2 separate regions of the Homo sapiens genome follow, and region 1 is linked to region 2. The links are contacts of gene promoters, found by promoter capture Hi-C in human tissues and cell types (Jung and others, 2019). All regions are on one chromosome and are shown on one strand. Each heading gives the region's core, a stretch centred on a gene start or on the middle of the fragment in contact. The rest is flanking DNA. Distances are from core to core; before and after follow the strand shown. Region 1 overlaps ANXA4 (annexin A4). Region 2 holds the start of NFU1 (NFU1 iron-sulfur cluster scaffold).

The links. The method cuts DNA at HindIII sites, captures the fragments that hold promoters and counts their contacts. A contact is called where the count stands out against the background at its distance.
Region 1: a contact is called between a fragment that was not itself captured here and the fragment with the promoter of NFU1 in region 2, in 1 of the 25 tissues and cell types used here (aorta).

What each region holds. Positions count from the first base shown.
Region 1 is chr2:69,802,294-69,804,993 of GRCh38, forward strand. ANXA4 (annexin A4) reads left to right here. Exons shown (of 13, transcript NM_001153.5): 4 at 2,240-2,334. Among named protein-coding and RNA genes, the nearest start is that of SMANTIS, 4.6 kb to the left of the region's middle. The HindIII fragment of the contact is 6,525 bases long and covers 1-2,700 here.
Region 2 is chr2:69,436,169-69,438,868 of GRCh38, forward strand. NFU1 (NFU1 iron-sulfur cluster scaffold) reads right to left here and starts at 1,267. Exons shown (of 8, transcript NM_001002755.4): 1 at 1,193-1,267. The coding sequence starts at 1,254. RefSeq lists an enhancer at 1,123-1,272. The HindIII fragment of the contact is 8,312 bases long and covers 1-2,700 here.

The sequences.
Region 1 (2,700 bases), core at 27-2,526, 370 kb after region 2:
TGAAATCTTGAATTGGAATGGTTGTGATAGGAAATAAAAAGAGTGAAAGAATGCAAAAGAGGCTGTAAAGCAACATTTTGCATGACCGTGGACTTGAATGAAGAGGAAAGGAGAGGGTAAAAAAATCAAAGCTATTGGGCTGGGTGCAGTGGCTCACGCCTGTAATCCCAGCACTTTGGGAGGCCTAGGTGGGCAGAGCACAAGGTCAAAAGATCGAGACCATTCTGGCCAACAAGGTGAAACCCCGTCTCTACTAAAAACACAAAAATTAGCTGGGCGTGGTGGCGTGCACCTGTAGTCCCAGCTACTGGGGAGGCTGAGGCAGGAGAATCGCTTGAACCCGGGAGGCAGAGGTTGCAGTGAGCCGAGATGGCACCACTGCACTACAGACTGGCCACAGAGCAAGACTCTGTCTCAAAAAAAAAAAAAAAAATTGAATCTATTTTGAGGATTTCAGCTTGGCTTGACTGGGGGGAAGAGTGATCCCTTTCACAGAAACAGGGAATGAACAAAAGGTAATGAACCCTCTCTGCCCCTTCCACACCCCCTCCTAGCTGAGAGTGCCAAGGGAGAAATTGATTGTTATATGGATTGTCCTCTCCTTTTTAAAAATAGGAACACGGCTGGGCATGATGGCTCATGCCTGTAATCTCAGCACTTTGGGAGGCTGAGGCAGGTGGATCGCCTGAGGTCAGGAGTTCAAGACCAGCCTGGTCAACATGGTGAAACCCATCTCTAGTAAAAAATACAAAAAAAAATTAGCCAGGCATGGTGGCAGGCACCTGTAATCCCAGCTACTAGGGAGGCTGAGGCAGGAGAATTGCTTGAACCTGGGAGGGAGAGGGAGTGAGCTGGACTGCACTCCAGCCCGGGTGACAGAGCGAAACTCCATCTCAAAAAAAGAAAAAAAAAAAAGGAACAGAAAGTAGGTCCCCAAGGTATGTAAACTTAAAGTTCTATAGCTTCCTCTCCACACCTCACATCTTTTTGCATCTCTAACCTTGCCAAGGATAACTAAAGTTTGGCTGTATTTTTTCATTTCTCCCTGAAATATTTTCAATAGAATCATTTCTGAAACCCATTCCAACCCCCCATACAGCACAAACAACGAGGAAACAGAAGATTCACCAAACATTTATGAACAGCCAGCTGTTATAAAGACAAGGGACCAATCTGAAAAATCAGAATAAAGTCTCCTTGTTAAAGCTGCTGCAAGAAACAGGCAAGCAAAACTTAGAACATTTTTAATTTGTAATTTTTGCTTAAAGTTTTGGTAAGATGTTGTATCATGGTAATTTGTCAGCAGTTCTAAAAGGGAACCATTTGTGTTCAGGAAAGATAGCTTAGAAGTGCAAAACATAGTTCCAGATTTTAAAACACAGTGAATGCAGTAACAGCCAACTTAAACTCTGCAAAATGCCAAATTGGTGAATTAACAGACAAGTTTGAATTGTTTCAAAACTCAGAGGAGATGATAAAAAGATAAAAACAAAAAAAAAGGCAAGAATATGGAAGAGAGAGAGAGGAGATTCAAAAGACATGAAAAGAATTCTAGAGGAGATGGCTGGGCGTGGTGTCTCACACATGTAACCCCAGCACTTTGGGAGGCCGAGGAGGGCAGATCATTTGAGGTCAGGAGCTCAAGACCAGCCTGGTCAACATAGTGAAACCCTGTCTCTACTAAAAACACAAAAATTCGCTGGGGGTGGTGGCACAGCCCTGTAATCCCAGCTACTCAGGAGGCTGAGGCAGGAGAATCGCTTGAACCCAGGAGGCGGAGGTTGCAGTGAGCTGAGATCGCGCCATTGCACTCCAGCCTGGGTGACAGAGTGAGACTTTCTCTCAAAAAAAAAAAAAAAAAAAAAATATTCTAGAGGAGAGAAAAAATTACTCCAGCCAACATTTATTAAATGTTTAGTAAGTGCTAGGCATTTAATTATATTAACACTTGCAGCAGCCTATCGAGGGAAATCACTGTCATCATTCACATTTGCAGATAAGGAAACTAATGTTTAGAAAGTTAACCATTTTCTTCAGTAGTAAACAGCTAATTAAAGGAGAGGCTAAGTCCCGAACCTAGCATCTGTTTCCCAAAAAGTAGACAAACCCTCTGAATAAGGGCCTCTTTTCTTAGAAAGCCCTCTGCATGTGTTTGGGTAACTCCAATGTCCACAGAGGAACCTGCTTTCTCATTCCTCTCTCAAATCACACTTACCTGCTGTCTCCCTTCTTCCCCCAGGCACCGATGAAGACGCCATTATTAGCGTCCTTGCCTACCGCAACACCGCCCAGCGCCAGGAGATCAGGACAGCCTACAAGAGCACCATCGGCAGGGTAGGCCACAGTCTTTCCTGCTCTGTCTGGCTGACTTCGCAGCAACAGGAAGCAGGGCCTCTTCCTGATCTAGGTTCCCGAAGTGACCTTGTGTTTTAAAAGATCGATCCTTTGTCTTGTTTAAAGATGTTCTTGAGGCCAGGTGTGGTGGGTCACACCTGTAATCCCAGCACTTTGGGAGACCGAGGTGGGTGGATCACTTGAGGCCAGGAGTTTGAGACCAACCTGGCCAACATGGTGAAACCCCATCTCTCCTTAAAAAATACAAAAATTAGCCGGGCATGGTGCTGAGCACCTGTAATCCTAGCTACTTTGTAGGTTGAGGCAGGAGAATTGCTTGAACCAGGAGGTGGAGGTTGCAGTGAG
Region 2 (2,700 bases), core at 17-2,516:
AATGGCCTCAGTTCTTCATCTCTACAATGAGATTAGTTTCACAGCTACCTCATAAATAATCCAGAGAATCCATGTAAAGTGCTTAAACCAGTGCCAGGCCATGCAGTAAGTGCTCAATAAATGGCAGCTGCTACCATTATTTAATTGGTGCCCAATAATTACTAATTGAGTGCAGTTCAAGGTTTGGGGTAAAAATGCCTTTTTCTATAGCTCAGTATCTAAATCTGTGAATACTCTGGAATTTGGAAATGCACTAGAAGAATAATATTCTCGTCCCTTCAGCCCAGGGAAAAGGCAGCAGAATGAATAAAGAGGAAGCACATTCCAACATACAGGTTTAAAGTCTTGTTTTTTTAAAGTAAGAGTGGATTACATTATTCAAGGAAGACATCTACTCAAACACAGGAGGTAACTAACAAAAAATTCTACCAACTTAAATCTTTTTAGGATATACATTTAAACTTCAAGAGCACCATTAACACTACAATGTCTAATACTCTAGAGGGCAAACTCTCCGTAGGCCATTTTCTCCAGACGTAAAATTAAGGTACACCTACATAAATGTCCTCTTAGCAATGTTCACAGAAGTCTTTGAAAGGTGAAACTCAAAGGTAGGGCTCAGGGAGGCGGAAAAAACAAGGGAACAGAGTGGGCTTAATGGTGGTGGGTGCAGGGAATCTAGGGGTCCTGGTTCTCGTCGGAATTCCATCACTTAGAAACTGTGTAACCTTGGACATGTCACCTCCTCTTTCAGGGCCTTACTGGGAAAATGAGGAAACGAGACAAGGTATTTTCTTCCCTTCTGTGTGACATTCTGATTCTGCGTTTAGAAGAGGAGGGAATGCACCCGGTAGAGGGCCTGGGGGCGGGAGAGGCACACGATTTTAAAACAGCTCCTCCGTTCTGGCTCTACAGCCAGTCTCTACAAGCTTCCGTACCGCAGAGACTCAAGAACTGGGTCTCTGAGCCTGAGAGGAAGCTCCAGAGAGTCCGCCCGGATTAGGCCACAGAAGCGCCGAGCTCCCGCACAGACAGCCTCAGGGCTCACCCCCAACTACGGCGACAGGGCGGACCCGCCGGCTCCATCAGATGCACTACCCACCCGCCTCGAGAGAGGGTCTGCAAGGCGGCGACCGCTCCGCTGGCTAAGCCCAGCGGCACACCTATTCGGAGCTCCAGGCTCGTCACCTACCGCCTGCGCAGCCCGGCGGCAACAGCCGCAGCTCCCCAGCCCCGCCTGGCCGTCGCCGCCATCTTAGTCCGGAGTGCCTAAGGGTCTCCCTGACAGAACCACGAAAGATCTGCGCAGCCGCAGGCTGGCCGGTAGCTGGGCGGGCACTGGGAAGAGCCCACCCTACCGGCTGCGGGCGGTCCTGCTGCGGATAAGTGCGGTGGCCTACGCGCCGAGGTTTGCAGGCTACTGCGTCACCCTGACCAAGAGAGGCCGGGGAACCTTTCCCGTTTGCGCCAACGCTTGGTTAATTCACGCAGCACTGTGAACGCATGCGTGTTTCCGTACTTTGTTTTCCCTGTTGGCTAGGTTTTTAGCTGGTGCTGGTGCTGCCTTGCGAATGCTGTTTCCAGCCCCTAAACCTGACCCATTCCCTCCTCTAGGACCCTACTCAGCCTCCAGGCCCAGCTCAGTGACTGCCCCCAAAGACTCCCTGGAGCATTCCTTCTAAAAGGTTCTCGCATTTCTCCTGCCCTTTTCCCATGGGTCTGATGTGGAACTGTGTCTAACCCTTCCTCATAGCTGTGCTTGTCAGCTGCCACTTGGTCATCTTGGACCAACCCGCACAGAGGATGTATCTGGTACAGTGCTGCCCTTCTCCGATTAACATGAGACTTGACTAGTTTCCAGGGCAGAGTGCCAAAGCCCATTACCTATTCTTCCAGAACCTTCCTGGAGTATTCCGTTTTCTCTAGGACAACGGTTCTCAAAGTGCGGACTAGGGGCCAAAAAAAAGCAGGAGAACACGTTAGAAATGCACGTTAGAACATGTTAGAAATCCTGGGCCCCACTTTATACTTACTGAGGCACAATCTCTGTAGGTGGGGACTAGAAATCTTTGTTACTTGCTTTTTTTTTTTTTCTTTTTCCAGAGACAGGGTCTATCTCTGTTGCCCAGGCTGGAGAGCAGGAGTGCGATCATAGCTCACCAAAACCAACTCCTGGGCTCAAGTGATTCATCCTCCAGCCTCAGCCTCCCAAAGCACTGGGATTACAGGTGTGAGCCACGGTGCCTGGCTTTTATTAGCAGTAGTAGTAGTAGTATTTTTGTAGAGAAGAGGTCTCCCTGTGTTGCCTGGGCTGCTCTTGAACTCTGCTGGCCTCAAGTGATCCCTCTCACCTGGGCCTCCAAAAGCTCTTAGGTTACCTCACCCTGCCTAGTAGTGTTTTAACAAACCCTTCCCAGGATTCTGATGCCAGCTAAAATTTGAGAATCACTGTTCTGGAAGACAGAGGACTGGTTTCCAGAATGGAAACAGCACACCTGTTGTTGAACAGGTTGAGGCCACACCCAAGACAACCCTAGTAATTTCTATGGCCCACAGACACATCTAAGAGGGTGGGTGGGTTTCAGGCCTGCAGCTCGCCCGGGCCCGCACACTGAGTGGGCTGTGCCTCCTACGAGTTTGGTTCATTCCCAATGCTGCGTACTTGCTTTTAACTACTAGTGATCTTCCCCCATCCAACCC